2 separate regions of the Homo sapiens genome follow, and region 1 is linked to region 2. Evidence: promoter capture Hi-C in 16 types of primary human blood cells and fetal thymus (Javierre and others, 2016). All regions are on one chromosome and are shown on one strand. Each heading gives the region's core, a stretch centred on a gene start or on the middle of the fragment in contact. The rest is flanking DNA. Distances are from core to core; before and after follow the strand shown.

What was found. The method cuts DNA at HindIII sites, captures the fragments that hold promoters and counts their contacts. A CHiCAGO score of 5 or more calls a contact.
Region 1: a contact is called between the fragment with the promoter of RTN4RL2 here and a fragment that was not itself captured in region 2, in 1 of 17 cell types (total B cells). The highest score is 5.3, in total B cells.

Annotation. Positions count from the first base shown.
Region 1 is chr11:57,456,106-57,463,021 of GRCh38, forward strand. It overlaps RTN4RL2 (reticulon 4 receptor like 2), which reads left to right and starts at 4,423. Exons shown (of 3, transcript NM_178570.3): 1 at 4,423-4,791. The coding sequence starts at 4,761. RefSeq lists silencers at 3,271-3,330, 4,430-4,699 and an enhancer at 6,135-6,673. The HindIII fragment of the contact is 14,932 bases long and covers 1-6,916 here.
Region 2 is chr11:58,493,536-58,500,149 of GRCh38, forward strand. LOC105369313 (a long non-coding RNA gene) reads right to left here. Exons shown (of 5, transcript XR_007062673.1): 4 at 4,638-4,855; 5 at 401-4,469. Among named protein-coding and RNA genes, the nearest start is that of OR5B21, 11 kb to the right of the region's middle. The HindIII fragment of the contact is 6,463 bases long and covers 1,556-6,614 here.

The DNA.
Region 1 (6,916 bases), core at 3,173-5,672, 1.0 Mb before region 2:
GGGTGGAACTGTGAAGGTCATCCGAGGGGTAGTACACGTGGGTAGGAAGTCATATCTAAGAACTGACCCCCAGACCTGGCTCTGCCACTCACTCCTTATGAGACCACAGGTGCTGGGTGCAGTGGTTCACACCTGCAATCCCAGCACTTTGGGAGGCCAAGGCAGGCAGATTGCTTGATTCCAGGAGTTCGAGACCAGCCTGGGAAACATAGTGAGACCCCCACCTCTACCAAAATTAGCCAGGCGTGGTGGTGTCTGCCTGTAGTCCCAGCTACTTGGGAGGCTGAGGTGGGAGGACTGCTTGAGCCTGGGAGGCGGAGGTTGCGGTGAGCCAGGATCATGCCACTGCACACCAGCCTGGATGACAGAGTGAGACAGAATGACACACTGTCTCAAAATAAATAAATAAATGACAGCAGATCATCATTTTTCTTTCTGCCTCTAGACTGCAATGCCTATTTCTCCAGGTAGTCACTAGGATAAAAGTAAAAATAATATTATCAGCATTTACCAAATACAGGGTCAGCTACTCTGTTATGTTCTTTCATGCTTTGTTTCTTTTAAGCCTCAAACAACTCTATGAGCTGGGAACAAGTATCGTCCTTCTTCCTCCCATCTTATTTATTTATTTATCTATGTATTTATCTATCTATTCATTTATTTATTTATTTTGAGACAAGGTCCTTCTAAGTCACCAGGGATGGCCTCAAACTTGAGCTAGGAACTAGTGTCACCACCCCCCAATTTCTTTTATTGATTGATTGATTGATTGACTGACTGGTTAATTTTGAGGCAGGGGTCTCGCTAAGTCGACAGGGCTGGTCTTGAACTCCTAGTCTTAAGCAATCCGCCCGCCTCAGCCTCCCAAATTGCTGGGATTACCAACACGAGCCACCATGCCCAGCCCCTCCCATCTTCTGAATAGGAAAACTGGGGTTTGAAAAGGTAAGCGACTTGCCCAAGGTCCCCTCCCTAGCTAGAGAGCTTCAGAGCCAGGGCACAAACCCATCAAAGCCTGTGCTCTCGCCCATTGAGCCACCGGACCTCGTACACTAACCGCCAAGTGTTCTACACAGTGAAGGTGACAAAGAGGTGAAGGGAAGAGCCAGGGAGGTTCTGTGGACTCACTCGGTGGGTATGCCCAGAGGGAAGGGGGATCTTGGGTGGCACATTGAGAGTAGCTGCGCTGTTAGTAAGTGAGAACTCGGAAGTCCAGACTCATCCAGTCTGTGCCAATAAACCCCTCCTTCTACCTGGTCTCCTTTCCAAAGCCAGCTGTTCTCCAGACAATGGGGTGGGCGGGGGCGGGTGTCCTCCTCCTTCTCAGGGAAAATCCGACGCTGAGCCCATCTCCAGAGATCTTGGCTTCCCGTGGGGCTGCAGATCCACCTAGAGCCACCAGAGGGCGGGCCAGCACTGCGGCCAAGGCTTGAAGACCCAGCACACCAAAGCCCGGCCAAGCCTCCAGCCCAGTGTCCAAGAGTCCAGCCAGAGGCCGAGTCCTCGATCTCAAAATGTCTAACTGCAGAAGCCCAACTCATGTTCAGGCATGATGTGTCTGATTCTACTGGGACAATCATTGCCACCAAAGAATTACTGCCAAAATAGTAACGACATTAGCTACCTACCACCCCTCCACACACCAACACACCTCATTTTACCAAGCACTTTCTCATGCCTGGGGTGCCTGGAGACTTAATGCAGCCTCGCGATGACCGGGTAGCCTCACCGTACAGATGAGGAAACTGAGGCACAAGGAAGGGGAGTACATTGTCTAGGGTCACCTGGAGAACTCTGATCTCCAGACTCAAATTTCCAATTCGTCCCCCCTCCCCCCAACCCTAACCGGAGCTAGGTGGGGTGGGGACAGCAAATGTGGATGGGGGGAGGTAAGAGGGGTCAGAGTGCTCTACAGAGAAGACCAAATGCATTGTGGCACCTACTGTAAAATGAGACCAGCCAGCCACCCACCCACCAGCCAGCCACCTAAAAGTCTTCAGTGGGCACCTGCTGGAAACACGACAATGGATGACACGAGTTCCCTGCCCTCAAAAAGCTGGTAGTCTAGTTGGGGGTGGAGGGGGTGAGTCAGCAGATAATTATGGGAAACCGTGACACCTGTATAAGGGGCGGGGATGAGCAGAGGGGCTGCGACTGCCTGGAGCCAGGGATTCCCGGACGGGGCTTCCCTTTCCTCGCAGCTCGTCCCAGGAGGAGGAGCTCCCCCCCAGCTTCGGGGTTCCGCCTGCCTTGGGGGCCCGGGGTCCCCTCCCACCCCTCCCCGAAGAGCGCGGGCCCCGGGAACCGATGACAGCACACCTGAGTCAGCCCGCCGCCCACCCGCCCCTCAGCGTCTGTCTCCGCATCTTGTGATATTTCGCTCCCCGGGAGCCAGCCCCACTGCGCTCCGGAGGCAGCTCGGCAAACAAACCCAGCGACAGATTGTGCCGCGGCTCATTCCGGGGAAGGACGCCAAACCCCACCCTGCTACCCCCAACACTCCCTCCCCGCCGCCGCCTCCAGGCCCTCCCCCCAGGCGCAGGCCCTAGTCGGGGTGGGTCCTGGGGAAACGCAGGGTCCTGTCCTGCCTCCTGGAAATAGGGGGAGCCCTGGGTGAGGGAAGACGGGAGCCCCAGAGACTTTTCTTTCTGTTTCTACCTGATCCGAAAACGAGAGGGGCGGGAAAGGAAATTTAGGGGCACAGAGAGGAGCTGGGGGGCCGAGAAGGTCCGAAAATGGAACCAGCAGGGGGCACCCGAGAGCCGAGGTGCCCACGGGCCGGGAGCCTGGGAATGAAACTGGGGAAGAGGGGGAGAGAAAGGGAGGCAGAGACACCGAGACACACAGAGACGAGAGACAGAGACGCAGGGAGCCCCGCGGGGAGGAGGAGAGAGACGAAGACACAGAGAGACAGTGAGAAAGACAGAAGACCGGGCAGGGAAACAGACGAGTAGAGACAGAAAAGGTCCGAGAGAGAGTGAGGGAGGGAGGGAACAGAGAGACAGAGACCACGAAATATGAGTAAGAGTCGGGGGAGAAAACCAGAGAAATCGAATGAGAACGCGAGAAGAACGAGAGACCGTGGAGGGAGCAGAGAATGAATGGGAAGAATAAGACCAACATTTATCAAGAGCCGACTGTATGCCAGGCACTGCATTGGACCCTGGCACGGATAGGAAAGGAGGAGCCGCGGCGCGGGCAGCGGGGCGAGGGGCTTCTGTGCTCGCGGGAGCGGCAGCCCAGGGGGCTCAGCAGCCCCGGCACCGCCGCACCTGAGGCTCCAGCAGCCCCAACCCCGCCAGCGCTGCCTGGCCACCGTACCCGAAGCGGCTCCCCCGAGGGCCCCGAGCCTATCCTACGCCGGGGCGGCTCCGCGGACGCGCCGGGCCGAGTCAAGACCTGGGTCAACCGCCCTGCAGCCTTTGTAGGGAAGTGCCTAGGTGATGGGTCTGCTGATACCGCCTGTGACCAGGCCATGAAGGGCCAGAGGGGCTCCAGTGAGACCATAATCCGCCCCTCTTTAAAAGGGGGTAGAGGAAGTTCACGCGAAGCCAACAGTCTTCTCCCCAGCTTTGGGTCCTCTCCTGCACCCCCGCGGGAGATAAGGTCTCCCCTCCCGGACACATCATACATACACAAAAAAACGCACACACTCGCACGCGCGCCCATCTCGCACCCGCTTGTAAATGCACTAAGGGGCATACACACACCGGGCACATATTTCTTTCCACCCATCCCCAAGATCGCAAGCGCAAAACCTCGCACAGCCTCACGTTTCCCACCAGCTCAGACATGCACGCTGGCGGACTTTCAGCGGCTCACCCGTGTGCACACTCACGTGCCCCCCCCCCCGCTTCCCCAAGCCCGTACAAAGGGTAACGGGCAAGCATCCTGAGTCACACCTGCACAAGCATCCTTGCGCGCACGTGCACGCTCATATGCACTCGATCTTGCACGCACAAACTCTTGCATATACTATTCTTATAGTCGCACACTGGGCTTGAGGTCTGGGAGTGGAAGGAAAAGTGGAATCTTGGAGCTGTCCCAGGGGACAGAAATGCTGGAGGCTGGGACACTGGCGCGAGGGACGCGGCTGGGGGCGGGGGAGGGGGTGACCCAGAAGCTCATCTTCTCCTGGAAAGTTGGGAGGGGGGAACAGGACAAGTCCACGGCGTTCCTCTAAACTACCGCATTCCCCCAAGAAGGGATTTCTCTAGAAGAGTGGCGCCGCGAGGACGATCGAACACAGTCCTCCGGGTCGCTTAAGCGGGGGGGAGGGGGGCGGGGTGGAGGGGGTTAGAAAGCCGCTCCCGCCTCCTAGTGGTCGAGAAAGGGTTAAGTCGGCAAGCCAGCAAACGAGGGAGGAGCCAGCGAGTGCGGGAAGGAGTGGGGGTGGTTGGGAAGAGCTTCCTCGCTGTCCCCACTCTCCCTCGGCTAGCAGCCTGGGCACACGGACAGACGGACTGACGGACTCTCGAGCGGACAGCGCAGCTAGCGGGGCGCGGGCGCTGGGCGTCGACGGCCAGCCCCAGCCTTCCCCGCCCCGTCGCGCCCCGCCCCGTCCCGTCGGGGCCGATGGCTCCTCCCGAGGCCCGCAGCCCGGGCGGCGCAGGGTAGAGCGCCGCGGCCCGGCCACGCAGCCCGGGGACTCCCGGGCCCTCCCGGAGCCCCGCGGGGTCCCCGCCGTGCATCCGGCGGGCTCAGGGAGCGAGTGGGAGCGCCCTCCCCCCGCTGCCCCCTCCCCCGAGCATCGAGACAAGATGCTGCCCGGGCTCAGGCGCCTGCTGCAAGGTAAGAACGCCAGCGGCGGGAGAGCGGAGGGCATCCTGGGGAGAGAAGCAGGGCGTCCCCTCTTTCAGGGATTGAGGGTGGGGCAGTTGGGGAGGTGGGGTAACCTGGGGAAGGGGAAAAGCTCAGCGCTGGGGCCGCGCCCCCGCCGCCAGGGCTGTTCTCAGCAGGAGGGCACTTGGCTGGGAGCCCGCGGGCGCGTGCGAGGAGCTCGTGACCGAGGTGGGACGCAGGGGGCAGGTGGACCCGGCCCGGAGCGGGGAGGGAGGCTCAGGTTCCGCTGTCCCCGCTCCACCTGCTCCGGGGGACGCTGAGGACTCGGGCCGGCTGGGGAAGCGCCGACTCAGCAACTCCTCCTGCCCGGTGCCTCAGCACTTTCTGGCCACCTGGGAAGACAGGAGATGTGGGTAGGGGGCTGTCTGGGGAGGTAGGAGGCGCAGAGGGAAATCCAAGTGGCCCTCTCTGGTAGGAGAGATGGAGGGCGCTAGAAAGAGGATAGTTCTACTGATTGAGTGACAGATAAGGGTGTGGGCCAGAGACTGGGGGTGGGGTGGGGAGGGGTCAGGGGGAGAGGGATAGGAAGGAGAACTCAAAGATGGAGAAAGTGGTGAGGGAAGCTCAAAGGAGGAGGGAGATGGAGCGGGGGAGGGGGAGAAGGAATAAAGGTTAGATGGGAAAAGCGTGGAGGGAAGTGGGACCCAGGTGAAGACCAAGGAAGAGGGAAGGAGAGGAAAGACCAGATCAGGGGAGGGATGGGAAGAAGACTATGGACAGGGACCCAGAATCCTGGGATGGAGGTAGCGGGAAAGAGAATCAGGACTGGGACCCTGGGGACTGGAATGGAAAAGGAGAATGGAAAGATCAGAAACCAGAGAAGGATGGGGATGGTGACTAGAGAAGGGGTATCAGGAACCGGCGAAGAGGGTTGGAGACAGGGAACCATGGATGGGAGAGGGGCTGGAGAGGAGGGAAGAGGAGGAGGAAGAGAAAGGCTGAGAGAGAGGGACTGGGGATTGGGGGTGCTGCCCAGGGATGAGACAAAGAGGCTTCTGGTAACCACTTCCACGTGGGAAGCCCTCCATTCCCAAAGCGCCTGCCTGCCACATTTCTTCTCTCAGGGAGTGGCTGGTGGGCCAGATGGGGGGTGCTTTGAGCTCAGGGCCCTGGGGGTGGCTGTGAGGGACAGAGGGTGAGGACTTTGGAAGGGGAGTGACAGCCTCCGAGGGTGGGCAAACAGGCTGGCTCCTGTGCTGCCATTTATTTATCCGGCCTGGACGTTGGATTCTGCAGCCGCTGCCGCCACCACGGTGGCTGCTTATTTTGGGGTGTTACATTCTGGCAGAGTGAGAAGCTGTTTGCAGCAGCTCTAAACCTCCGTCACCCGCGTCAGTGCCTCCCCAGGCCCCTGCGTCACTGGCATCACCACCACCTCCATCCCACTCCTCAGCTCCCACCTCCTCAGCCCCTGCCCCCTCAGCATCTGCCCGCAGGCCCCAGCCCTTCCCTGAAGCAGCCCGTTGGGTGTGGAGCCCTTGCTTCTCGTCTGGGACCCTGTGCCCCTCCTTCCAGAGCGAGAGGCCTCTGCTGCCTTTCCAGGGAGCATCCTTTCCTGGGACCACTCTGCACCAGCGACTCTGCCCTGTGGGTGGGTAGCCTGGATCCTGCCCCCTACTTTGGGTCCAGTTTTCTTCTCCTCAAGTTCCTTCTTCTACAGGGGCCTCCGGCCCAAAGAGTGGCCTGTGGGCTGAGAACTTTGTTTCTGAGCCTTGGTACTCCAAGGTTTGATAGCCAGAGTCCTGGACAGTGGTCCCTCAGTGAACAGATACTTTTGGCTCTGGACACTTCAGCCTTCCGGGATCAATACCATGTTCTGGCCTCTCTTGGCTCCCTCCCCTGGTCAGTTCTGGCCATATATTCTGGACAGGGGTCATCTCTTCTTGACTCCCACATGTAATCACTACTCTAGAACAACCGCAACTGGAAGCCTAGGAGGTGAAAGTTGCAGAGAGAGCTGGAGTCCCTTCCTTGCCTTGACCCTGAATAGCCAAACAGACTCAGCATTGTGGCTGGCCCAGCCCTAGGCACCTGGGTGCAATTTCTCTCCTGTCTTTACCTCAAGGGCAGTGTC
Region 2 (6,614 bases), core at 3,537-6,036:
GCGACAAGGCAAGACTCCGTCTCAAAAAAAAAAAAAAGAAAGAAAAAAAAAGGAAATAAAGACTTTTGCTTCTGACTTTAAAATACAGAATGTTTTTGTTTCAGTGGTTTCTCTCTCTCCTTTTTACTTGTGCTGTGTAGGTGGGACAGAGGACAGACCAGAGGCAACTTAAACCTGTTCGGAATGACTTCAGCAGGTCCTGGGATATGAAGGTCCCTCCTAAATCAGAAGAGAGTATCTTAAGTTACATATCTGTTATAAAGAACATCTCCCCGTGTCCCCAAAATATAAAGACACACTAAAAATACATATGACCCAAGGAGAGAACCCACACAAGTGTGGGTGTGATTCACAAAGTTATAAATATCACTTGCATAAAGGATGACTCAGAGAAAAATAATTTAGAAAGAGACCAAGAACATTATTTTATTAATATAATTTCTTCTGAGAGAAAAATGAGGCTGAAATATATGACACTGCTTTCCTGTTTCTCCCCAATAATGAACCCCTAAATGGGGTTGATAGGAAGAGTCTGCTATAGATCACTCCTGTTCTCAGTTACCTCTTCCATGAAATGAAAATGCTAAGAATAATATCCACCTAATAATAATATGAAAAACATTAGGTAATATTTACTGAGCTTTACTATGAGTTAGAAATCAGCCTGCAGCAATTATGTCATGAAACCTCTACAAGCCTGATGAAAAAGATACTACTGTCTTATGATTGCTACTTTAGAGATGGGAATTACAAGACTTAGAGGTATTTTAGTAATTTCTTCCAGGTTGCATCACCAGTAAATGGCAAAAACAATATTCAAAACCAAGAAGTCTGATTTCAGAAGCCACAGCCTAAATACCAGGATAAATATCTCTTGATTAAATAAGATAAAGCATGTAATAGTAAGCACTCCATATATGAAAGTGACTACTATATTTCATCTAAGTCCTGCTTCTATGCATTCTACACTATTATCCCATGCTAGTCCACACGTGGAATTTCTTTCTTGTGTTAGTATTTATTTCAGTCTGCAGGTTCTTTCCATCTCTGCTGATAGGAAGGATCAAAATTCACTTAGAGAAGATTTTTCAATTCCTAAGAAGACTTAGCATCTCTTCAGCATGCTCTGTGAATTTCAAGGCTCTTGATTGAAGCTTCTTATCCTCTATGCATCCATGTGCTCATTAAATTCTGAAACAAGGCTCATGAACCAAAAGAAAAACGGTTAAGAACCACAGCTCTGGCTCTGATGACTGAAGCATGACTTCTGTCTCTATTTATGAGGAGTTGGGGTTTGGCACTTTTCTTCCTACTTTGAGCTTTCTGTGTTCAATGCCTAATACCACTTAGATTTTCCTTCTGTCAAAGCCCTACGGAATATTGGTACCATCACATGAGTTTTAAAAAAATTCTATGTTGTTGAAAAGTCTAAAAGTTCAGAAATAATACTTAAAACATCCCCATCTGAGATTTAAGTGTTCAGTAGGCTATTAAAGATGCTGAGAAGTACTGTAGTAATGTAACAGCAAGCTGTTTAACTTACCTGCTTATGGAAAGCTTTTTCATATGTAACCCTGTTAACTCCCCATAGCATTTTGCTTGGGGAAAAAAAAAAGTAGCATTAGACAGAAGTGTGTAATCCATGAAATTCCTGGATTGTGTCCCACTGAATACAATGCATCTCAGAATTACACTCTTTGTCCATTTCATGCCAGTTTTCAGGACAGCACATATACAATTTTCCCATTTTCATAATTCTCTCTCATTAGCTTGAGTGTTCCATGAGGATACATTTTTGTCATGTTTACCTTTAAAATACCATCACACTGTCTAGAATTTATTAGTTATAAATAAACACTTCTTGAATAAATGAATTACTCAGAACCTTTTGTTTGTTTCATTGGTGGTGAATAGAGTAAACAACCGTTCCAATTTGCCCAGAATTAAGAAATTTTCTGAGATTTGGGGCTTTCAGTGAGAAAACAGATTGTTCCAGGCAAACTAGGACAAATTGGTCATGCTATGCGGTGGTGATTTTTTATTTTGTTGATTTTTGCTTTTAATTATCATATTTGTCCACTCTGTGTGTGTGTCCAGATTTTAGCTAAACACTAGCCATGAATTAGTGTGTTTACTTCTCAAAACAGCCTCAGGAAATATGTATGATTTCGTCTCCATTTCACAGATGAAGAAATCAAGGCAAAATTTTCATGCCTTGGCCACAGATACCCAGCCTTACCCTGCTGTCTGGTTCTAGAGTCTGTGCCCTCCAAAATGAATTCTGCAGGTACAGCAAAGAGCATAAGGTCACGAAATTCATCTTTGAAAATAAGAGCTCAGTAATTCACATAGAAAATAATGTGGACAAGCACAATCCATTCCCTGCTGGGTGAGATAGAATGTGAGAGAAAGAAGTCTGGAAAGCCATAATCTTAACATTAATCCAAGATGCGAGTGAATTTGAATTTGAGCTTTTAATATGTTATATACAGGCCAAGCAAGCTGAGAGCTATTTTTAGCTCTAAGTTATGAAATACAATCACATGGACAGGTGGCCTACATTTTCAGTTTTATATTTGGTGAGGAGTTTTGCAGTCAAAGTGAGAATGCCATTGCACCGACCAGGTTTGGAAAAGGCAGCTGGAGTCCTACAGATTCTGAGCATGCTGAGCAGGACAGCTAGGTGGTGGTGTGGAGTGGGAGATAGAAAATCTGGAGCCTAGACTCAACACCACCAGTCTATCTATATGACATGGGAAAAAACATTTGAGATTTCTTTTTTTTTTTTTGCCTTAGTTTTCTCATCTGAAAAAAGGTAGAACATGATGGGGAGGTAAGAATAGAGTATAAAGGGTTTGTAGGCCAGCAAAAGAGTGAATCGGTATCCTGGTTCTATCACTTAGCATCTGTATCTGAGCCTTAGTTTTACCATCTATAAAATGGGAAATCTGATTCATAAATCACAGGTTATCATTTAGTAGAAAATGATGACACTTCTTCATCTGTTTAATCCTTGATAAGTCACTTCACATATTTGGGCCTTGGTTTTATCAACTATAAAACTAGGATAATAACCTAAATGTTAACAGGGTAATTATGAGAAACAACAAAGGTGAAAATGCCCACCAGAGCTCACAGCACACACAAAACCATCAGGAAGTATTTGAGGAGGGGACAGCTTCTAAGGCTCTTTACATCTCTAGGAAATGTGAATTTTGTGCACACTAGCCACTGTTTTCTGCTTACTTCAAGAAACAAGTCTAAAGATTTAGGATCTTATCTCTGATGTTCTTAGCAACACAAATAGCAATCTTAAAGAAGGTAAAACATTATTTGGCCATCAGAAATTATCATAGAATTAAGAGTGGATGAGGACAGCAAAAGAAACAAATAGAGTAAAAAGGGCAACTTACAGAATGGGAGAAAATATTTGCAAACTATGCATCCAACAAAGGTCTAATATCCAGAATCTATAAGGGACTCAAATTAACAAGCAAAAAACAAACAGCCTCCATTAAAAAGTGGGCAAAAGACACAAACAGTTTTCAAAAGAAAACATACAGTGAACAAGCATATGAAAGATGCTTAAAATCACTGATCATTAGAGAAATGAAAATCAAAACCACAATGAGATACCATCTCACACCAGTCAGAATGGCTATTACTAAAAAGTCAAAAAATAACAGATGCTTGTGAGGTTGCAGAGAAAAGAGAATGCTTATACACTGTTGGGGGGAACATAAATTAGTTCAGCAATTGTGGAAAACAGTGTGGCAATTTCTCAAATAACTTAAAACAGAATTCTTATTTGACCCAGCAATCCTATTACTGGGGATATGCCAGGAGGAATATAAATAGATCTGTCATAAAGACACATATACGCATATGTTCATTGCAGCACTATTCACAAGAGCAAAGACATGGAATCAACCTAAATGCCTATCAACAGTAGACTGGATAAAGAAAATGTGACACATATAACCTATGGGATAATATGCAATCATAAAAAGAAACAAGATCATGTTCTTTGCAGCAACATGGATGGAGCTGGGGGCCATTATCCTGAGTGAACTAACACAGGAACAGAAAACCAAATATCACATGTTCTCACTTGTGAGAGCTAAACATTTGAACACAAAGAATGGAACAAAAGACACCAGGGCCTACTTGAGGGTGAAGGGTGAGAAGGAGGAAGAGGGCTGAAAAACTACTTATCAGGTACTATGCTTATTACCTGGGTGACGAAATAATTTGTACACCAAACCCCCATGACACACAATTTACCTATATAACACACCTGCACATGTACCACTGAACTTAATAAAATAAAGTAAAACAAAGTAACTATTTCATACAGGGAAAAAACAGCAAATGAAGAGATCTCTCAGATTAGATTCATTGGGAAATAGACTCTGAGACTGAGATCTGTGTGCAGATGGCTCTCCAGGAAGGACTCTCAGGAACAGCATCTGTAAGGGAGAGATGGCAGCAGAATTAGAGAGAGGGAGAAATTGTGCTGCAATGCAGTCTCAATAAAGGCCTCAGCCAATCCTTTAGGGTGCTTGGGAGCTGAGATGGCTCTTGGGAGCTGTGTCAAGGAAACAGGACAAGCAGGGGCAGGCCTTCATACTACTCACTGGCCAATCTTGGATGACACTTCTACAGCTGTTTAATCTTCACCTGGAGCCATAACCTCAGGGGAGGTGGCTCCCATTGACTGAAGGAAATTCTTCGAAGGATTTCAGCTAGGAGATCCAGGTAGCACACAATCACATCCACTATCATAGACACTATTGTTTACATAAGATGCGCTTGGAATTGAAGAGAGAAATCTGACGAGCAGCCAACGAGGGACCTAAAAAGAAGTGGTTGTTGCAATTAACTTGAAAGTCAGCATACTGGCTCCTGGACACAACGTTGTCCAGCTTTAGCCAGGCTCATACATTATTCAGATAAAAAGTGACCATTATCTGAACAGAAAATCAGTAATGTGTTTATAAGGACAAACGTGTTTGTAAGAAAAATGTTTCTGACTCTATCAAAAACATTAAGCAAACTAAATGTGTGCTCATACACACAAAAGGGGTTGTGGCCGCCAGCCAGAGCAGCTGTGGTGTGTGAGGTGGTATGCAGAGTTAGAATACTGCACAAAGTCTCACTCTGTCACTTCCTGGATGTGAGAATTCAGAGACCACTTCTCCTCCCCAGGCCTCAACTTCCTAGTCAGTAACATGCAACAGGGGAACAAAAACAGCCCTAAGATCTCTTTCATCCTATGTACCAATAATTCCAGATGTTTATTACTATTGTTAGCAAGAACAAAAATAATTAAAAATGGATGCCTTGGTAGTTGCTTCATTTTCTGCTAAGTTAAATTTTGTGGCAGTGTTTCCTCTGCATTATTCATTTCCTGATAATTTTTTATAACACTTTTTGGTTTTTATTGAAATGTTGTGGACCTCTCTTTTATTATTGAGGGTGCTTTATTCCCCATACTCTTTAACATTTATAATTTTGTGAGGTCAGTGACTTCTCTCTTGTTCACTCTACTGTCCATGGAAGAGTATCTCTCACAAGCTAGAGGTATCAGTTATGTTTCATTATAGACACCAGTTCAGGCTAACTTGAAGGGAAACAAAAGAGGTAATTGAAAGGATATCAAGAGGTTTGCAGAATCAAAAGGAAACTGGGCAAAATGCAGGAACCAGGAGCACTTCAGAGGGCTAAGGAACAGAAGTCGGAAGCAAAGAACCATGTCATGTCTGGAATGGCCCCACCAACATTTCCCTGCTATAGCAAATGAGCTCCAAGCCTTGATGCTTCTTTCCATCCCTTGCAGATTCAAATTTAGGGGAGTGAGAACTTTTTGTTGGCTGAGCTTAGGACTCATGCCTGCCTCTCTATATACCTCCATGAATCTCTCTGTATAGATTTCTCTTCCTTAGGGGGCAGGGAAGGAAAGGTTATCCTTGCCTCAGCTTCCATAGACTTGTGGGTGGAGAGGGTACAGGAACTAGACACTCTTCTCCCACCAATCTATTCTCCAAGAAAGAGATCATTCTCCAAGAAAGTCACGATATTTTAAGCAGGAAAATGGATTCTGGATACACAGAATACCAATATTTGCTAGAGCAGGTGCTCAAATAATGTTTTAGGTGGATATGTGCTCATACATAAAATGCTGAAAATTTCCTCTGAAGCAAACAAGTGCTTTACTTTAACATAGGTGCATAAGGAAAGCTGTTTTAAATATTCTTCTACAGCAGTTGAGATTCTGCCTTATCTCCGACGTCTATGTGCATGATGTCCAGAACTTCTTTATTGAAGTTTGAATCTATAGCTTAAATTTGAAAACCTCAATTTGAAAGATAATATCCCTACTGTTGGGCACCAGTGTATCATTCCAAACTTATTTTCCATTACTTCTCTCCACAGATATTACACTTCAGCCAAACAGACACTATTTGTGAAATATATCTGAATAATTTCTATTTTACTGTATCTCTCTTTCTTGTCCAGAGCAAAGTTATCTTCCTCAATTCCCCACCCTAGAATCTACCCTTCAACTATTACTATAGCATTTTATATGTATCTCTTGTTGGTTTTTATTATTT